4 separate regions of the Homo sapiens genome follow, and all the other regions are linked to region 1. Evidence: promoter capture Hi-C in human tissues and cell types (Jung and others, 2019). All regions are on one chromosome and are shown on one strand. Each heading gives the region's core, a stretch centred on a gene start or on the middle of the fragment in contact. The rest is flanking DNA. Distances are from core to core; before and after follow the strand shown.

Region 1 (5,747 bases), core at 2,748-5,247:
AGACAGCATGAGCTTGTTGTTGGCGGCCACACCATTGCTGATATACAGGCTTTTGGTTATCTGCGAGAGGCCGCTGACTGAGGGCTGCCGGAACTGAACTGGGAAGGCACACGAGGGTGCTGTCATCAAGGCGGTGGGTCAGTGGTCAGCAGTCAGCGAAGCACGAAGGCTGCGTCTTTCTGCTAGGCTGTGTCCATGGAAAACTGCAGAGAGGGAGAGGATGTTTAGAGGGCAGGTGCCCAGAGGGCCAATTCCAGGGGATCCCTGGGAAATGGATGGATAGGCTTATAGCATTCCCCAAGGCAGTCCTCTGACCATCACAGCAGAACTACCCAGCAAACTCATTTAAAGTACAGATACCCAGGTCCCTCTCCAAACCCACAGTCAGACTCTCGGGGTGAAGAGCATGAATCTGCATTTTCAGCATGCTTCTCAGGTGGTCTAATGTGCACTGCCCTATAGGACAAATGGCAAGTCCCCAAGTCTGGCACTTGAGGCCTCCCTTGAGGGGTCCCACAGCTCTAGTTGGGCAGATGACTTGTGTCCCTCAGCTGTGCCTTGGCCTGATTCTCCATTTAAGCTCACAGAGCCCTTTTCTTGCTGCTCTTCCAAATTCTCTCCTTCCTTCCAGCCCCTCTGAGTGGGAACCATTTGTACAGTCTTCCTCCTCAGTCTTCTGACTTTATGCCCAAATCATAAGGTCCTGAGCCAGTGGCATGGAACCAGAGCCCACTGTGCTGGCAGTCACTGAGGAGGCTGGTATAAGAGTAGGGAGGGTTCCCATTTTCCCCCTCTAAGAACCATCTCTTTAAAGAGACAGGATATGCCCATGCGAAGCTGATGTCAAATACAAAGTCCTAAATTGTTAGACATGCTCCTGCACCTTGCCTCTGAAGAAGGCCTGGGAAAGGGAGTGGCTGAAAGCTTCCTGGAAGCCAGCATAATGGGCACCACAGCAACCCCAGGGACAAGCACAGAGACAGCAGGGCCTTAGGAAGACCTGCCACACCTGCATCATGCTGCCTGCAGCAGAGCTGTGAAACACACCCCAGGGAGAGGCAGACCCCTTCCCTTCACCTGCTCGATAGGCTCAGTCGCCGCTAAGTAATTGGGGTAGAGGTTCAGCCGCAGATCTGCTTCCCGCGCCGCAGACCGTGCAGTCGTCGGTGCTCCTCAGGTGCGGCCTGGGTGCCCAGAGCATTCATTAGACTCTCGGACCCTCACTTTCTCAGTCTTAAACAAAGCTGCAAAAACCAGGACATCTTTATACATTCCGCTGAAATAGGGACATTTGGATTTAGATCACACCTTTCAAGGCCAAGTGGCAGTCTTCACCAGGCACGAGAAATGAGGAGCCAAAGTTTTGTTTCCCTGCTTAATATATTTCAGTGGCTATCCACTGTGAGGATAAGATGGAGCCACTTAGTTTGGCTGTCAAGGCCATTTGTGACCTGGCTCCTGCCTGTCTCTCCAGCCTCTTATTAGGCTTCTCCATGCTCTGAAGGGCCTCAGGTGAACCGAGCCACTTACAGTTCCTTAGGGACAACCTGTCCTCTCCAGCCAGTGGCCTTTGCCCCTGCTGATCTCTCAGTCTCTTTCCTTATGAACCCATCAGATCCTGATCTGGTCCATTCAGCAGAGGACTGCAGAAGTCTGAGGAGCCTTAAGATATCAACTTAAAGGTAACTGTTTTAAGGGAAATCTCCTTAGATCACACCCCTCCCTCACGTTTGACCAACTCTGCTCCAGGCTTTCTTAGCCCTATGTTCTCTCCTTCCTAACACTTACTGAAGACGTAGTTTTGCTCCGATCTGTCTGATTATTTGATTAATGTCTGTCTCCCCAAGAGACTGTGAGCCCTTTAGGGATATGATGGTGTCTGTCTTCACTCCCACTCTATCACCAACTAGTGCCAAGCGCTGTGTCCCCACAAGTAGGTGCTTGATAAATATTTGTTGAATGAAGAAATGACTCCCAACAGCTATGACTCTGCCTTCTGAGAGGTTTTCTGGAAAGAATGAGTTCTCTGGCAGCGTGTCTCCAGAATTCCAGGGAGGGGCTGGGTGGGGATGGGGGTGGTTCTGAGGCTACTAAAGAGAAAGACCAAAGGTTGTATAGGCAAATCCTACCTGCCAATGCCCCAGACTCAAATGCATCAGGCTCATTCCCGGAAGGACAGAGAGGGCTGGCTTGCTACAGAGGTGATATGAAGGGCAAAGAAAAAGCCTCCTGAACCCAGATGGAAGTCTAAATGCTAAGGAATGTTCTGGATCCTCGTCATCAGAAAATCCATAGAGAAGTGAACTGATGTCCCCCCAAACCAGTGCCCAGTGGGTAACGGGAATAGAGGAATGTGCTGTTCATTATAGCCACTAAAAGTCTGCAGAAGTGACAATGCTCTTGCAGGTGAGGGTAGTGATGCGAGGAGTCATTTTCATGCTAGTTAAGAAATATCTATCAGGGCTGGGCACGGTGGCTTAAGCCTATAATCCCAGCACTTTGGAAGGCCGAGGCGGGCAGATCACCTGAGGTCAGGAGTTCAAGACCAGCCTGACCAACATGGTGAAACCCCCGTCTCTACTAAAAATACAAAAATTAGCCAGGCGTGGTGGCATGGGCCTGTAGTCCCAGCTACTCAGGAGGCTGAGACGGGAGAATTGCTTGAACCCGGGAGGCGGAGGCTGCAGTGAGCCAAGATCGTGCCACTGCACTCCAGCCTGGGAGACAGCGTGAGACTCCATCTCAAAAAAAAAAAAAAAAAAAAAAAAAGCAATCTCTATCAGGCACTGTATTAGGTGTTGGAGATACTGAAATGTACAAGACAGGCATGGCCCCTTTTCTCAGGGAGCTCAAAGACTAGTGGGAGAAACAGATAGTAAACAGGCAATTACAGGCAGACAGAGCTTGAAAATAGGATAACAGTACCTACCTTAAAAGGATGTTGTGAAATTAAACGAGATAATCCACGTAAAGAGTTTTCTCAGGGCTTGGCATAGAGTAAGCCCTCTCAAAATGATAACTATTTTTCTCGCTTCTGATAGGGAAGTTAAAATGCAGGGCTCTGTGAAAGGGAAGTGTAAAAAAGATTTCTTCCAGGTCGGAGCCTAGGGAGTCGCAAAGACCACCTGAAGAAATCACAAAAGATCTAAAGAACGTTTAGCTTGAGAGGGAGGAGGAGAAAAAAATAGCAACTCGGTAGCAGTTCAGCTTCACCACTTTACAGCCTATGAAGTATTTGGCTTCCCTCATCTGGTTCGATCTTCAAAGCAACCTAATCAGACCGGCGTCTAGAGTTAATATTTCCATTTTACAAAAGAGGAAAGTGAGACACAGCGCGGAAAAGGACTTGTTCAGAACGAGTCATAAAGCAAAGAAGCCGACCTTTATGGTCCATTATGTGTGGGAAAAATGAACAAACACCGCGGGGCGTTCGTGAAATACTAAGTTATAAACATGGAACAAAGTCCAAGAGTTAACGAGAGCGAAGCATCACTTCTAGGGGTGGGCCGGGTAGGTTTCCTAGGGGAGCTGGCATTGGAATAGGCTTCTTCGCCTGCTTAGTGTCAGGACCCCCAGGGTTTTACCTCTCTCCTTCAGGCGGGTGGGCGGGTTCGCTCAGGAAGTAGCCGCTTGGGGAAGCCTTAGGCAAGGTTCTTCGGGAGAGAGACCCGTCATGATCCCGCAGCCTCAATCCCCGCTGGCCTAACGCTTTGGTTTCCATAGCAATGGGCTCGTCGCAGAAAGGAATAGCCTGTGCCGGGTCTTCAGAGAAATCCTGGCCTCGGCTCCACGCCCCTGAGCAGCCCCACCCTGGCTCAACCTGTTACCCGCCCTGCCGGCAAGCCGGGGTCACTGCAGTCCCCGTGGCGAAGCAGGGTCAGCTCAGCTCACCGCACCCCACTCCATCCAGCCCTGCCCATCTCTACGGCAACGGGCCGGGTCGCACCAGGGCTGCAGCCGAGAGACAGTCTCACCGCTTCCGTAGCCGCCCGGGCTCTGTGCGCATGTGCGACACTCCCTCCCCGGCCCCGCCCCCTTATGCGTCTCCCAGGCAACGCGCCGCGCGGGGCTCCAGGTTCCGCCCAGGGACTAACTCCAGGTCTGCGCGCGTCCAACGAGCACGGCTCTCAACCGGCCTCCTGGCGCCCAACGACCATGGCTTCCAACCGGCCTCCGTGCGCCCAACGACCATGACTCCCAACCGGCCTCCAGTTTCCAACTGTTTCTCGAACAGGGAAGCCGCCATGACACAGCTGACTACGCCCTTGGTCACAGGGGACCTGAGATCCTCCACGATTTACGGGACCGGCGCCACCTCGGGCTCGAACCACCCTCTCGATAGGGCCGCCGCTAAGTAATCGGCGTAGGGGTTCAGCCGCACATCTCCTTCCCGCGCCGCGGACCGAGCAGTCGTTGGTGCTCTTCAGGTGCGGCCTGGGTGCCCAGAGCCTTCGTTAGACTCTCGGACCCGCAAGGGAGCCCGAACTCTTTCAGACTCGCTCTCCCTCAGCCGGACCTCGGCCCTTTTTCACACCCCAGGGGAGTCTGGATTTCTCATAGTCCTGGGCACCAGCCCCTTCCCAGTCTAGCTCTTGGGACTCCCTGAAGCCGGAACTCCCTCGCCTGGACTCCCGGGAGAACCTGGAATCCCCATCTCCAGTCCACATTTTCTCAGAATCTGTCCTAGCCCTTCAGTCTCCCAGGCATGACATCGTGTGGTCCCAGCGCCCTAGGTGGTGAGCTGTGACTCTCCTTAGAGCCTGGCGAGGCCGAGGTCCTCCCCAGCTCGAACCCATCCCACACTCCCCTTCTCAGCCTCTGTGTTCCCCAGTGGTCCTGGAAAAGCCCCCAGTTCCCTCTGCCTGGCCCCAATCCTCACAAACCCAATTACCCACGCTCCTTTCCATTCCATAACCCCCATCACTGCATCCTCCAGGCTCCCATCCATGGAGGACTTGAGGTGGAAAGCAATTTGGTTCAAAATAACCATTATTTATTACTTGAAAGGGAATATTTCCAGTCGTTGCCAGCCTCCTCCCCTTCTAGTATTGGTAAATTTTTTGCACCACTGAGTGGGTGAAGAGTTTTATGCGTCTTTAAATGTTTTAAGGATTTTTTTAAAAAAACAAAAAACTCTCAGGATTTGGGGGACTTTTGTGTTTGAGCATCTTGATCTCTAAACCAGCTTTTTCCATCACCTCACACCTAGGCTATGCATAGAGGTCAGAAAAATGTAAATGAGAGATTGAGAAGTTGGATTGTTCATACTAGTTTGTAAATATGAAAACATTCACAACACTCCAGTTCCAAATAGGCTGAAAATGCATTAGAAAAACTAGTCCTTCAATATTTTTTATCCTTCTACAGTTGTCTTTTTTGACCCAATTATAAAAGTAGTGTACACTTATAGAAAAATGAGGACAGGCATGGTGGCTCACGCTTGTATTCCCACCACTTCACTTTGAAACGCTGAGGCAGTTGGATCACCTGAGCTCAGGAGTTCGAGACCAGCCTGGGCAACAGGGTGAAACCCCATCTCTACCAAAAATACAAAAAATTAGCCGGGCTTGGTGGCTCACCTGTGGTCCCAGTTACTCAGGAGGCTGAGGTGGGAGGATCACTTGAGCCTGGGATGTGGAGGTTGCAGTGAGCTGAGATTGTGCCACTACTCTCCAACCTGGGGGACAGAGTGAGACCCCGTCTCGAAGAAATAAAAAGAAGACAAGACAGGCCAGCAGCATAAGTGG
Region 2 (4,886 bases), core at 1-2,500, 450 kb after region 1:
ACCATGCAATTGTTAAAAATGATGCAGCAGGCTGGGCGTGGGTGGCTCACGCCTGTAATCCCGGCACTTTGGGAGGCCGAGGTGGGCGGATCACCTGAGGTCAGGAGTTTGAGAGCAGCCTGGCCAATATGGTGAAGCCCCATCTCTACTAAAAATATAAAAATTAGCTGGGCATGGTGATGGCTGCCTGTAATCTCAGCTACTTGGGAGGCTAAGGCAAGAGAATTGCCTGAACCCAGGAGGCAGAGGTTGCAGTGAGCTGAGATCGCACCACTGCACTCCAGCCTGGGCGAGTGAGACTCTATCTCAAAAAAAAAAAAAAAGATGCAGCATAGATGGAATGACATGGAGAATGTTCGTGGTTATGGTATTAAATAGCAAGAAAAAAGCAACAAAAACAGTAATCTGGTAATATCAATTGGGAGTTGTGATGCTGTGGGCTGCAAGTCATAGAAACCCCAATTTAAACTGGCTTAAACAATAAAGGGAGCTGGTTGTGGTGGCTTGTGTCTATAAACCCAGCTACTCAGGAGGCTGAGGCAGGAGGATAACTTGAGGCCAAGAGTTCCAAACTATCCTGGACAACATAGTGAGAACCCATCTCTAAAAAAAGATATTTAAAATCTAGCCAGGCATGGCAGTGCCTGTAGTCCCAGCTACCCCAGAGGCTGAGGTGGGAGGACTGCTTGAGCCCAGGAGTTCAAGACTACAGTGAGCTATGATCATGCCACTGCACTCTAACCTGGGAGACAGAGTGAGACCCCATCTCCTATAAAAAATAAAAAATAATACAGTGAGCCAAGATCGTACCACTGCACTCTAGCCTGGGCAATGTGAGTAAGACCCTGTGTCAAAAAATAATAAAAATAAAGGGGCTGGGCCCAGTGGCTCATGCCTGTAATCCCAGCACTTTGGGAGGCCGAGATAGGCAGATCACTTGAGGTCAGGAGATGGAGACCAGCCTGGCCATCATGGTGAAACCCCCTCTCTACTAAAAACACAAAAACTAGCTGGGCATGATGGTGCACACCTGTAATCCCAACTACTTAGGAGGCTGAGGAAGAGAATTGCTTGAGCCCGGGAGGTGGAAGTTTCAGTGAGCCAAGATTGCGCCACTGCACTCCAGCCTGGGTGCCAGAGCGACACTCAGTCTCTAAATAAATAAATAAATAAAGGGACTCTGTTGGCTCAAATAATTTTAAAAGTCCAGGACAGGCACAGTGGCTGACGCCTGTAATCCCAGCAATTTGGGAGGCTGAGGCGGGCAGATCACCTAAGGTCAGGAGTTTGAAACCAGCCTGGCCAACATGGCGAAACCCCGTCTCTACTAAAAATACAAAAATTAGCCAAACGCAGCGGTGGGCACCTGTAACTCCAGCTACTCGGGAGGCTGAGGCAGGAGAATCGCTTGAACCTGGGTGGCGGAGGTTGCAGTGAGCCAAGATCGTGCCACTGTACTCCAGCCTGGGCGACAGATTGAGACTCCATTTCAAAAAGAAGAAAAAAAAAGTCCAATGGCAGGTGGGGCTTCAGGTGAAGTTTGATCCAGTTAATGAAGTCACCAAAGCCTGGTGTCTCTCCATTCTGCTTTCCATAATGTCAGTTTATCAGTAGGCCAATTTTCTACATGGTGTAAAGATGGCTGCCAGCAGTAACTAGAGCCATTGGCCTCTTCATTTACATCTAATGGAAGGAAGATCATCTTTTTTGGCAGCCTCCTCAGGAGAGAAAATAAGCTTCCTTTCCCAAAAGCCCTGAGCAAAAATTTCCTTGTATCTTGCTAGTTCATTCGTGATCTAATCATGTGCCTGGGGAAATGGGAATTGCTTACTGGCTTAACCAACTGGGACCCATTCCTGAAGCTGAGGGTGGGGTCCACCATATTCCAGTTCCTGTTAAGAAGGAGATGGGCTGCAACCTTAACAGGATCCTAACCCTAACCCTAACCCTACTGTGTTGCTGGACATTGTGGCAGCAACACAGTAACCAACCAATTCTATAAAACATGTATAGGCCCAGTCTTGGTGGCTCACGCCTGTAATCCCAGCACTTGGGAGGCCAAGGCATGTGGATCACTTGAGTCCAGGAGTTCAAGACCAGCCTGGTCAACAAGGCAAAACCCTGTCTCTACTAAAAATACAAAATTAGCTGGGCATGGTGGTGCATGTCTGTAATCCCAGCTACTCGGGAGGCTGAGGCAGGAGAATTGCTTGGACCAGAGGTGGAGGTTTCAGTGAGCTGAGATCATGCCACTGCACTCCAGCCTGGACGACAGAGTGAGACTCCATCTCAAAAAATAGATATAGCTATATAAAATATATAACACGTATATGTAAATATACATGTATATAAATATATATGCATATTATATACAACATGTATATAAATATATATGCATATTATATACAACATGTATATATAAATATATATGCCTAGACCCCCGCCCCCACCAAAAAATATCTATAAGGAAACAAACCAATAAGTCAGAACGATTATTTCTTGGTGGATGAAATTATAGGTAAATGTTTTCCTTCTGTGTTTTGTGTAATGGGCATGGATTACCTAAACACAAACAGTAAACTTTATTTACGAAAATAATGGGACATACCCCACTATTTCCTTCTACTCCAACCCCTACCCCAGCAAGGGCCTCAGAGTAACTGAAGCCAGAGGCCCCACGGAGTCGTTCTTGCTGCTGACAGAGCCAAACCCCAGTACCCCATGGGCCCTGGTTGTTTGCTGGACAGATGCCACCAAACCACTCTCATTGCATTAGCCTGGATGCTGTGGCCCCTAAAGGCCACAGCTTGGGCTGCTGAGGGTTGACCAACCAGCCAGTGGAACCAGTGGTGGAGACTGTGACCATAACAGTACCAGGAAGGAACACTGTGGCATCAGCAGCATGAGAAGCCCAAGATCTCCCAAGACAGATCTCTGCCCATAATCCATGCCTCTTATGTGGCAGCATGTAATTTAGGCCAGCAGTCTTCCTCAAGTGGGGCCAAGGTTGGGGATTAGTCTGTGATGGGGTCAGGCTCAGACAGGGTCTAGGTCAGCCCTTAGTTGAGTAGTCTGTAGCCTAGGGCTAGATACAGGGCTCAGTCCATGATTGGGCTTAGTCTTTAGTCTGTGACCAGGAGCCAGGCTCAGTCTGTGACCAGGGTCATGTCTCTGTCAATGACTAAGTTCAGGGCTCAGTCTGTGACCAGATTCAGGGCACAGTCTTCCGTTTAGGGCTCAGTGTGTGACCAGAATTGCATGATCCAGGGTCAGAATTCAGTCTGTGGTCAGAGTTCAGTCAATGATTAGGCTCAGGACTCAGTCTTTGACCAAGATTAGGGCTCAGTCTTCTGCCAGAGTCAGGGTTAAAAGGTTAGTCTGACTCTTCTGCCAGAGTCAGTCTAAAAGGTTAGTCTGGGCTGGGGCTAGAATTCAGTCTGTGACTAAGGCTCAGTCTTAGAGAAGGATAAGGGCTTGATCTGGGCCCAGAACTAAGGTCTCAAGTTGGGATCAGCCTAATTCAGGCTTAGATCAGTATGTGACTAGAGTCAGGGTTCATTCTAAGGTGATGTCAGAGCTCAGTCAAGAGCTGGAGTAGAGGCTTAGTCAATACCAAGAGTCGGGTTCAAGTTGGAGGATCAGGACCATGACCAGGGCTTAATCTGGCTCTATGCTCTGTTCTGAGCTCCAATAAAGAAGCTTCTGGAGGCATAGGAGCCCAGAGCAAGTCAGTCTGCAAGAAATGAGAGCCCCCAGGCAAGCTTAGCAGGGTCTGGTGGCTGCAGGAAGTTTCCCCTGGACTGCTGAGGCCGGGTGTCCTAGAGCCTCTAACCTACATGGCTCTGCTGCTTGAGATCCCCTCGCACCAGAATAAAAATAGCCACTCACTTCAGAGCAGCTGACAGCGGGTGCTGGGCTGCCTAGGAGGAGGGGGAGCCGAAGAGAAGGAGGAGAGAGGCCTGAGCTCAGCCCCAGCTGTGTGACCTTGGGAAAGTCACTCCTCCTCCTCCAGCCCATTTCCTGAGTGGCAGAATGGGGAGTGAGGATGACATCTGCCTCAGAGGGTGAGAATGAAGTGCTGGGGACATAACATGTGAAGCTTGTTACCAACAAGAAACCCTGGAGTGAAGCCTTGGGAGAAGAAATGCTCTTTTGTGCCCTGTATACTTCCTCCTCAGGGAAGCCCTCCCAGATAACCCCTTCTTTCACATTCCCACAATATCCTGTATCACCCTCTACACCTTTGCAGATGGTAGCCATAGCATGACCTCCCTCATGGCGGGCCTGGGTCAGGGTGACCAGGGAGAGAAAGGAAGGAGGACAGACCCTCGGTACCGTTGCCATCCTCAGGTGCCCCTGGAAAGTGAACCGAGGAAGAGGAGGAGGAAAAAGACAGGAAAGACTTCTCTCCCTTCCCTGCTCATGTTTACTCCGAACCAAAGGGCAGGAGGGTACATGTCCAAATTTCTCATCCTTTCACAGCCAGAACCTTCCTTCCCCATCCATGCTTTGTACCTGCTGTTCTCTCTGCTTTCCAGCCAGGGCGTTTCTCTTCTTCGATTTGGCAGCACGGACTCTCCTTCAAAGAAGGGGTTCAACAGTCAGCTCCTCTGTCGGGAAGAATTATCCACTGCCTCTCCAGGAGCTCCATGCTCTGTCCTCTCTCTACTGGCTGTGTAATCCCTGGGCCTCGGTTTCTTCCTCTGTCCAATGGGGGCCTCATTACCAACCTCACAGGGTTACTATGGAGAGTAACTGGGATACTCCATCTATCACTGGCATCCTGCCTTCCTATCCCTGACCCACACAGCCTGAAGGACAGCACTGAGTTTCCAGGAGTGGGCTGGATGAGCCCTGGACCCTGCCTCAGTACGCCCACCCCCCTC
Region 3 (3,690 bases), core at 962-3,461, 270 kb after region 1:
CTCCCTGATTGGGGCATTACCAGCGGTCTCTTGGTGTCGTGTCTGTGGGCACGTAGTCAAACTTCACCTTCCACCGCACCACATGCTTGCCCACCTCCACGGCTGTGACACGGCCCGTGTACCACTCCCTGTTCACACGCACCTCCACGTGCAGCCCTTTATCTGACAATGTAGACAGAGGTGCGAGTCAGAAAACTAGCGTAGAGTCCCTCACTTGGCCTGGGCCACATCGAGAAAGGCAGTCCCCAGGGTTTGGAGGACAGGAACACTTAGGTGCTTGCCCCCACTACACCAGGGACACAGAGACCAGGGACCAGCCACCATGGTCTCCTTCCCCATCTGCTATGAGGGTGCCAAAAAGCAGGAGAACAAGTGACCGCCAGGAGTGAACACCAAGGAATTAGTGTTAAAAATAACCACAAAGGGGTGATCCCTTCAGAATTCTGCTTGGGATTAGACTTGGATCCACTGCTGCACAAGAGCCCAGACCCAGGACAGATTCAATGAGCCTTTGGTAAATTGCTGCTGGTAAGGGGCTCCACTTCCACTCCCACTCCCACCCCCGCCACAGGCTGCCAAGTCACTCCCCCAGCTCACCTTTCTGAGCTCTCTTGAGGTCAGCCGAGTCCTCTTCCCCAGCACTGTCTGAGAGCTGCGTGGAGAGCAGTCTATTAGAGGCATCCCCAGTGCCCCCCAAGAGCAGACTTGTGCCTTACTGGCCACCCGGGGTCATCAGCCATCATCTTCACGACTTCCTGTGCTACAGTTTAAATCACCAAGCCCCGTTGAGAGCCACACTCCAAAATCACTGTCCAAGGTACCTACCCTTCTGCTACCTTTACGAACAAGACAGCAGGCAAGGGACATGTGTTTCAAGCCTCACTGATGTACGTCTGTGTGACTTCAGGCCTGTGGTTAAGCCAGAAGCCAGTCTCACTCAAGACCCTACCTGGCACCATGTTTAGTCACTTGTGTAACTGAGAGTCCTTGAGAGATCACTAGGCTTCTGGAAGGCTCATGACACGAATATAAACAGAGTTGGTGCAGACTGCTGGTGGGGGGGGTAGACTGCTGGTGGGTTGTGTAGACTGCTGGTGGATGGTATAGACTGCTGATGGGGGGTGCAGACTGCTGGTGGGGGCTGCAGGCCCTAGAGAGAGAGGCTTTGAGAACCTCACCTCAACCACTCACCTCATTCGAGTCCTTCTTTTCCTCCTTCACAACAAATCTGCCCCGCTTGCACCTCTCCTTCCTCCTCTCAGCTTCCTCCTCAACTTCTTCCTCATCAGAAACTGCGACACTCCGCTTCCGACTAGGGGTAGCCTAGAGCAAGAGGAGCGTGAGGATGTGAGGGGCCCTGTTCAGCCTCTAAGGAGCAGGAAGATTTCATCTAGCCTAAAGGAGTCGTTCCAAGAGGAGCTGTACTCCCTGCAATCCCTGCCTGACATTACTTGGAATGTACACAGGCAACCCACTGGCCCCTGCGCCATAAGGATTTTTGCTCAAAGCTATCATAGGAGAAGCTTCTCAATTCCCTTCCCACCTTAGTCTACCTGGCCAACTAGCTGTCACCTCCCCAAGAACCACCGACCACTGCCGCAGCCCACTCAGGCTATCTGTCACCAGATGACTGACCTAAGCCCACACTTCGAGAGCCAGTGGAGGTGACTCAAGTTTGTGGCAGACCAAAACTCGGAGGCAACAGTGAAGAGCTCGCTGTACAGGCAACCGATGTGCTGTCTGGCCCCAACAAGTCCGTTCAGCTATCAAGGCTTCCCGTCCTCAGGGGCAGCAGCAAAGCTTTAGATTCAGTATCTTCCGAAGGCTCCCCCAGTACAGCTGTGACACTGCACAATTCCATTCCTACACTACTGACACTGGGCTGGGGTATTAAAGAGGACAAGCGTCTCACCGGGGAGAGTTTGATGGGTGACTCTGTCTTCTTCACCACTGGAGTCTTGATGACTTTGGGAGAAGGAACCTCCCGAGGGCTCTTGGAGTTGGGCAGTAAAGATGGTGACAGTTGCTGCACCAGAGGGGCAGGTCGGGATGCAGTCTTGACGAGAGTGTTGGCAGGCTTTCGGGGTGCCTCAGGTGGCTGGAGCAGCCTAGATGTGCTGGCCTCCTCCCGGGCTGCCAAAGCAGGGAGCTTTGGGGTACTGCTGATGACAGGAGCCTTTCGGGGCTGGCTGGCTGGTCTAGGAGTTGGCAAAGAAGGGGGTCTGCTGGGGGCGTTCCTGATCACAGCAGGTAAAGGGGGCGACCGAGGACGCTGAGGTCTACGCACAGGTTCCTAAAAAAAGGCCCACAGAGAGTGAGAACACTGATCCTAGCATGAGACACCTGAGGAAAAGCCCTTCCCAGGCCCCTGGACTTCACCTCAGTGGAAGGTCTGGTGGTCACTTCCAAGGGCAATTTCTTCAGGTCTGCTTGGGAGCGGATGGGTGTGGTTTTCTGCAAGGCAAACATCATGATGAAGTTGTTTGCATATTTTAGTATACTTGAGCAAACTTTTTGGATAGTGTCTGGAACCAGGGACAAAAAAAATAGAAAACCTGAGCCATAGTCCTACTCTTACAAACCTCCTGTTCTCATTGGGGAGACACAAAATACATAAATACTCAACTATCAGCAAATTACAGGAAACTGTGTGATTAATCCAGCAACTGAGAGACTGGCAAAAAGTGTCAATAGACTAAATTCCTATAAAAGGAACCCAAAAAGGTAGAAAGGGCCCGAAGGATAGGGAAAACCTGGATGAAGCCAGAAAGGAAAGGTGGGATTTAGCAGCTAGGGAGGCATATAAAACATCATGGGTTAGTGAGAGCACATCTGCACAGACACAGAAGCCAAAAAGGGAAATGGTTGTGTACTAAATATGATAAACAGATGATATCACAGACATATCTAGAAAAAAACATAGAAAAAATAAAAATGTAAGTGAATAAGCAGTTTAAAAGGAATAAAAGTGGACACATGAAAAATTATGCAATCTTAGAAATATTAAGGAAATTAAATTATAAAACATGCATCTTTGCCTATGAAATTTGCAACAACATTTAAAAATAATGCTCTCATATACTGCTGGTAAATAATAGAAATTAACACATCTCTGGAGGGTACTTTAGAAATAGTTGCAAAAAGCCATAGAATTTTACAATGGACCTTTTAAGTCCTTTAATTTCACTTCTAGAAAGTCATCAAAACAATTATGTGTATGTGTATGTATTAATATAAAACATATACATGGCATTATCTCCCTATTTCTATTAAAAAATATATGTGTGTTATGTGTAGGTATTCATGAGTTCATGACAAGTTGGAAGGATGTATGGTTAATGATGGTTACCTCTAAGGCAGAATTTTTATTTTCTAGAGTTTTATACATTCTAAATGAATTGGACCACTTTGAAGTATATAAGCATTTTTTCTTAAGAATAAGCAAGGTGTTATTCTTAAAATAACACTGTTGGCAAATAGTACACGTGGACCTGGAGGTTGGGGTTGGAAAGCTTTGGCAAACAACGCGGGTGAGTGGAGGGTAAAACTGAGCCTGAGGGAACAGGAAAGCTACTGAAGGTTCCTGTCACAGGCAGAGCCCTGACACAGGCTGGCTTTGCCCACTGACCATGACCCACGTACCTGAAGGGCCTCCAGCTTCTCCTGCTGCTGGCGAATTTTCTCTGTCAG
Region 4 (6,717 bases), core at 4,090-6,589, 290 kb after region 1:
ATCTACAATCTAGATGAAAAGTCAGGGCTTCCCCTGATTCTAGGAGACTTCAGTTTTGGGGGATTTAGATAACCTGCATTAGAATCATATGATTACAGGTGATTCATTTCATCTGTGAAAAACACATTCCTAGCCCCTACCCAGATCCACTGAATCAGGCCAGCAATCTGCCATGGAAACATCAAAGGAGGAGAAATAAAGGCAGAAACCAGGCTCTCACAGCAATGATAGCATGTAATTCTTAACCTACTTGGTATGCATTATCATCTCAATTTACAAAGGAGGAAGCTGAGGCTTAGAGACGTAGTAGCGGAAGTGAGATTTGAACCTTAGCTTGTCATTTAAGTGAAATGCACAGCAGCTCCATTTTGCAGTCAGAAAGACCTGGTTCCTACCCTAGCGCTCTACACATAGGCATTTTTAATGCCTTTGGGAAAGTAACTTCACCCTTATAAACCTCAATTTCTTCATCTGAAAATAATAGTACCTACAACCTCACAGGGCTATCATGAGGATTAAATGAGATTATTCGTGTGCCTGGCACATGGTAAGTGTCTGTTATTACCATTTGGTTCCTGCCCTGAAAGACAAATCACAAAGTCCGGATACCAGGTCCTGATTTCTTCGGAAGTACTCTCTTTCTTCTCCATACACCCAAAGCACAACTGCACACAAGGCCCAACTGATGCTGCTGACTGATCAAACCACCACCCTCCCTCAAACAAAACAACACATTTCCACGACAAGACTGGAAACGTGACTCACAATTCCATTTGCACAAACTCCAATTCCACTAAATCTTATTCCATCCAAAGGTATGTACAGCTGGAAGTGAGCATTTCAGAAATAGAAACCTTTCTCTTGGGGCTTCACTCAAAACCAGAACAACACATTCCAAACACTAACCAACTGGGAACTAAGGCTAAGAAAAAGTCCCATGGGATTTGAAGACATTAGGTAGGTCCCTGCTATAAGGGCCTTGCAGTACATTCAGCATCCTCTGGGACGGAGGGCTCACATCTCTCTTCCTTACCCTGGATCCCCAGTGCCTGGCACAAAGCATGACATGCAGCAGGTGCTCAGGGAACACTGCTGCACAGTAAGGTGACCCCTTCATCATCTCAGATACATCCCAACACCACAAGAGAATCACTCACATCCTTGACTACAGGGTAAAAATAAGAATTTTCAACAGGAGAGGTGCAGTTCTAGAGCACTGTGCCAAGAGAAACGTACAGCCTCTCCTGCCCTGTTTTTGGATGTTCATACTTTTCAATCTGTGGAGTAAATTCAGCTGGGAACAGCTGGTAAGCTACTCCAGAAACCACCACTTTCTGACTTCTTCCAGTTCCAGAATTATAGTCAATAGAGGGACAAGGAGAAGGAAAGTTTTCATCCAAGAGAAGCAGGACAGCATTGCTGGATTTTGTTTGAGCCCTGTGACAAGCTTCTAATATACCTACGATTTTAACCCATTCCCGTACTGCCCAATCTGAGTAGACTCAGGTGTTCGCTTGGCCGACTTCCCAAACTGGATCACACTGGCAGCATCACCTGAAAGGGCAGACACAAGAGAAAGTGAAAAGTTTGCATTTCTTTCCCAGGGTCCTCAAAGTCAAAGGTCTGAGCCTTGTTAAATCCAAGCAGGGGTGTGTATCTGCTGAAAACCTCTCTCCAAGGAAATTCACCACCATGAAGCACATGGAGGCACAGCTTTGCCTGGCCTGTTGGTACCTCTATCACTGTGACCTATGTTCTATTCCCAGAATGTGGTAAGACAGCTAGCAGAGGCATCTGTAGGTCCAGCTCGAGAATGTTGTGCAAGCTGATAAATACAACGCCAAGAGACAGGTAATCTGATTGACTTAAGATTGCCTTTCAGATCCTATCTCCCATGTTAGGACAAGACCTGGCAAATACATTAGTAGAATTAAGCCTGAGATGTTGCAACAGACTTCTTACTCCCCAGGTGGATCTTCTAGACATAACATTGGAGGCAACAGAAAAACAAGTTCACACAATAAGTATTTTGTAAAAATGGTTACATCGCACCCCCCCACCCCCCAAAACAATAATCTCATCACTTACTTGGATCCATTCCTGCTCCATCATCCAAAAAGCAAAGCATAAATCCTCCTCGAAGGTCCTCTCGTCTTTCTGTAAAAGAAGCAGCTGCCATTACTGGGCCGTTACCCACCACAGGGTGGCAACATGCCTATGATCAGAAGGCAGATCAATGTGAAGCTTGGTCCAAAAAGGTCAGGTCAAGCCTAAACTTTCTACGCTGGTGTGAATTAAACTTCAGGGTCCTTGAGGTTGCAAATTCCCATCCAAGGTTCTCCAATGTTTTCTAGATCATGACAAAGCTTGGGAGAACCTTTGAAGGCAGGAATATCTGGTCCAGCATCTAATCATACCCACTACCACTGAATATGCACATACCTCACACATATCTCAATCATCCTATCCTTCTGCTCACTCCACCTGGATTACTATCACTTCTGCCCTATGCCATAGACCCCAAGCACTAAAGTACTCCAACTACCACACACTGTACTTTATCAATACTGCTCAAACTCAACAGGATGCCTCCTTTGTGAATTAAGTCTGGGGTATCCTTCAAAGTGATGAAACCAGACATGGTATGGGCACAGCAGTGGAAGCTGCTATCTAAAAGATGAAGTACTGTGTCTATACATGACCATCCCTAGGCTGACTGGCATTCTGGGCTATCTGCATTTACTGTCATATCCCCTGCTAGCTATGGTCCTTGAAAGGGCTCCCCATCCCAACAGTGAGAAGGCACATGGTACAACGTGGAGGTGCCTTGTTCCTAGCTGGACCTGCCTGATGGGAAGAAGGAATGGTCCTTTGACAATAAGATGCACAGCAGCTGTGGTGGGGTTTCCTGGCCAACAGAAAAGGAACACAACAAACTACGGCTGCCATTCTAGTGAAAAGAACGTCTTCTCTCAGCAGTTGTCTTCTGCAGCAGAAAGTGGTTAACTGAAAGTGGTCTGGGTCCAAGCATGTCATGGTCAATGGAGAAGCGATTCCCAAATATGGAAACAGGCTATACTAGCTTCCAAGGTGCCTTTTGACCCAATGATGAGGACTAGGTGAGCAAAAGAGAAACCAGCCTTGGAATCAAGGAAGTTGGTAGACACAAAGAAGAGAAGGATGTAAGGCAGAGGTATAGGGAGGAGACCCACACAAGCCAAGCAAGCCAACTTCCCATATAGATGCTATTCAGTCTACTGACTGGCACAGGGATAAAGGTAGCATTTCTAAGAGGAAAGAGGTCTGTGTAAGGTATTACAAGGGCAAGCCCAAGGCTGCTCTGCAGCCTGGTCCCTGATGATTTCGGAATCTCCCCCAAGCTTCAGTTAACCAATTTTGTACAACTATCTAAGCTGAGAAATCTGTTTTAAATGCTCTTTGTCCTTTCTTCAGGCTAAAAATTCAAGTGAGTAGGGACTGCCCTCTGTCAAATAGACTTATTAATGTAAATTAAAATGCTATTTTTTTTTTTTTTGAAATGGAGTCTCACTCTGTCGCCCAGGCTGGAGTGCAACGGCGTGATCTCGGCTCACTGCAACCTCTGCCTCCCAGGTTCAAGCGATTCTCCTGCCTCAGCCTCCAGAGTAGCTTCTGTAAGGCTATAAACCACAGAGATTTTCAAGTACCACTCAGTGTTCAGGAAGCTGAACATTAATTACAAGTGCTTCTTGAAAGTACAAGGGTGAGGATCTTCCTGGAAGTACTATTGGTTAGATAAAATCTCTCCTGGTGGCAGTGCCTCTAATCAGAGTCTGGGGAATCCAAATGAGACGTGGCAATCAAGAATAAGTACAATAAAAGTCCAAAAAGGCTTCAAAATTTCCATCTGGAGGAAGCCAAGTGTCATAAGGAGACTCAAACTGGGTCAGGTACAGAGAATGGTAAAAGCAGCATTCTAAACCTAGCCAAGAGCCATTTGCTGTACACTACAGCCGCAAAATGTGCATGAAGACTCTGCTTTGGGATCTAGAAATTGATTCAAGCCAAGCACCTCTGAAAAGTCCCCAAGGACTACTGGCATTCTTTGGACACTGCCTAAGAAGTTACTTTCTAGGCTCTTGTGTTAGGATAGAACTCTTAGGCTGCTTTAGCACACAATCATCACTTAACAGTGGGGCTGGTATCCTTTTCTGGCTCAAGGACTTCATTTCAAAGCTTTTTCGTGTAGTTTAAAGGGTAAGAGATGACACTGGGGGGATCCTCCTGGCTACATAGTAACTGACAGCCTATAAATGGCTAGTAGTGTCTAGGTCCATGGCCACATGCAATACTGCCTCAGGGCCAAGAAAGACTAAGACAGCATTGACTTCTTCAACTTTGTAAACAGACAGTGTGGTCTCTTCACCTTGTTCAAATGCTTATGCCAATCACTTGTTTATTTAATGACTACTTAGTGATCAGCTCTTCTGTGCCTGGTTATGATGAGGACAAGAGCAGTGAACAGTACATATGCGATCACTGTCTTCATGGAGCTTACATCTAATGGATTCTACTGCCTGCAGCAGATAAGCTAGGAAGTAAAGGACAGGAGGGTTTAAGCTGAAGGAAGCTTAGAAAAGTATTGGCTAGAGCAAAATGTAGTATGGGTAAGAATTATCCAAAGAGCTTGTGAAAATAGATTCTGGGCTCCCCCTGGATAGTCTGGGTACGTCTGAGGTGGGGCATTCGCATTTCTAACAAGTTCCAAGATGATATTGACAACATCTGTGGATGGACCACCTTTTGAGAAGCACTAAACTAGAGCAAGCAAGAACTCGAAGGCGTCCCTGCTCAAAACTATCTCCTCATATATTCCACCATAGAGATAGATTCCTATCACCTGATATTTAATCAGTCAACTGAGTGATATCTGAAGCCTCCAAAGATAAAGGAAGGGGAATTCTGGATAAAGAAGAGTCTAAGCAGCTGGGGGTTGTATGTTCCCCGCCTCCCATCACACATCTTGAAAGTAAGAGAAGGCAAAGCCGAACTGCCTGCTTTGCAGCTGTGCTTCATATCCTGGGAACAGCTCTGTAAGACTGTCAAAGCCAATCTGAAAGTCTGCACATCTCCCAGAATGGCCAAGTCTGGCTTCTGCAAGCCAGACATTCTTCATCTAACTCCCACTGGGAAGAATAAAGAAAGAAAGCAGGAAAAGACAAGAGATGTCAAATGGAGCTATACATCCAAAAGTCAAAGGTGATAAAATAATGGTGTCCCCAGGAGAGGCTGCAATAAAATGACATCCAAGTTCTTCATCATACTCTGCAATCTGTTTGAGCAGTATTAATTGCAGTTTCATTTGCTCCAATTTTCCATGTGTTAATCATTGCCCTGGCATCACGAAAAGGATCTTTCTTCCAAGGAGGTGGCACTACCTACCCCAGAAGGTCAAGAAAGTCAACAAAAACAGTCTGCTTATGACAGGCATATTATGGTCTATAATAATAATCCAACTAATAATAATATGCTTTGGGTAAATGAACACCTCTACACTTTGAGAGGCTGGCTCCTTTTTTGCCCTTTTTAGGTTTAAAAATGGTCTTTAAATGTGACTTTGTGGTGACTTCAAACTACATCTGATGTTTGGAAAGATTTCCAAGTCCAGTTATCAATCAGTTTCAGAAGTGGAGATAAGAAAATACTTTCCCCCATGAACTAACAACAAGAACTTTATAGTATTAAGATTATTACTGGCCAAGCGCATCGGCTCAGCCTGTAAGCCCAGCACTTTGGGGGGCCAAGGCAGTCAGATTACTTGAGCTCAGGAGTTTGAGACCAGCCTGGGCAACATGGTGAAAAAATATATATACAAAAATTAACCAGGTATGGTGGTGTGTGCCTGTAGTCTCAGCTGCTCGGGAGGCTGAGGTAGGAGGATCACTTGAGCCCGAGAGGTGGAGGTTGCAGTGAGCCTAGATAGCACACTGCATTCCAGCCTGGGTGAAAAAAAAAGATTCCACGGACTGATTTCTCCTGTTGAATGTGTTAACAAGGCCCTGTGGTAGAAAAGTGTAGGGTTAAAGATCCCTTAGCCAAGAATCCCAATCTCCTGGTACTTGAAGTAAATCAAGTCTTTTTCCAAAATGCTATGGTGCTTAGTGCTTCTATCACACCATTTAATCCTTAACTGTCTTGACTGTTCCCTCAAGATCTAGTTATTGTTCTCTAATTATCCATAGTGCATTAATTGTCTCTCCAATTAAAGACTAAGTTCTTAAAGCAAAGACCCCCATCTCCTCCTCTCTGGACATTTCCCAAAGCATAACAGGAGTTGTACTGAGCACAGAATAAAGACACACTGGGTCCTTTTTCATTTAAATTGAAATCCAACTTCATTCTGAGTGTCAGGAACTAAACTTCCTTGCTGAAATTTACCCACCAAATGTAGTAGGAGACAGCAGAGATGATCTTTTTTAAAAAACGTCTTCCAAGTAGACTTGACCATTACGATTTGTACCTTCAACATCACTTGGAGAAGAGGCCCATTCTCTGCTTTAGCATCTGTGCATTGATTAAATAAGCCCTATTTTTCCAGCGGTAGCTGTTACCATTCCTGAGAAAGCACACTCAGATGTAAGATACATGCTTTGGCTTGGAAAGGCACCTCCATCTGGCCTGAGCATTTTTTTTTTTTTTTTTTTTTTTGAGACGGAGCTTCGCTCTTGTTGCCCAGGC

Evidence for each region. Contacts are between HindIII fragments. The study calls those that stand out against the background at their distance.
Region 2: a contact is called between a fragment that was not itself captured here and the fragment with the promoter of DUSP18 in region 1, in 1 of the 25 tissues and cell types used here (H1 embryonic stem cells).
Region 3: a fragment that was not itself captured here is called in contact with the fragment with the promoter of DUSP18 in region 1 in 1 of the 25 tissues and cell types used here (dorsolateral prefrontal cortex).
Region 4: a contact is called between a fragment that was not itself captured here and the fragment with the promoter of DUSP18 in region 1, in 2 of the 25 tissues and cell types used here (dorsolateral prefrontal cortex and mesenchymal stem cells).

The regions. Positions count from the first base shown.
Region 1 is chr22:30,663,878-30,669,624 of GRCh38, forward strand. It overlaps DUSP18 (dual specificity phosphatase 18), which reads right to left and starts at 3,998. Exons shown (of 2, transcript NM_152511.5): 1 at 3,585-3,998; 2 at 1-203. The coding sequence starts at 126. It also overlaps a transcript of SLC35E4 not described here. RefSeq lists an enhancer at 4,096-4,485. The HindIII fragment of the contact is 10,031 bases long and covers 1-5,747 here.
Region 2 is chr22:31,115,368-31,120,253 of GRCh38, forward strand. It overlaps LOC105372995 (a long non-coding RNA gene), which reads right to left. Exons shown (of 3, transcript XR_938163.3): 1 at 4,516-4,886. Among named protein-coding and RNA genes, the nearest start is that of INPP5J, 5.2 kb to the right of the region's middle. The HindIII fragment of the contact is 5,360 bases long and covers 1-3,930 here.
Region 3 is chr22:30,932,869-30,936,558 of GRCh38, forward strand. MORC2 (MORC family CW-type zinc finger 2) reads right to left here. Exons shown (of 26, transcript NM_001303256.3): 17 at 3,643-3,690; 18 at 2,380-2,454; 19 at 1,913-2,293; 20 at 1,192-1,323; 21 at 598-652; 22 at 21-162. Among named protein-coding and RNA genes, the nearest start is that of MORC2-AS1, 12 kb to the left of the region's middle. The HindIII fragment of the contact is 4,500 bases long and covers 1-3,690 here.
Region 4 is chr22:30,948,289-30,955,005 of GRCh38, forward strand. It overlaps MORC2 (MORC family CW-type zinc finger 2), which reads right to left. Exons shown (of 26, transcript NM_001303256.3): 4 at 2,089-2,157; 5 at 1,464-1,554. Among named protein-coding and RNA genes, the nearest start is that of MORC2, 17 kb to the right of the region's middle. The HindIII fragment of the contact is 6,988 bases long and covers 1,846-6,717 here.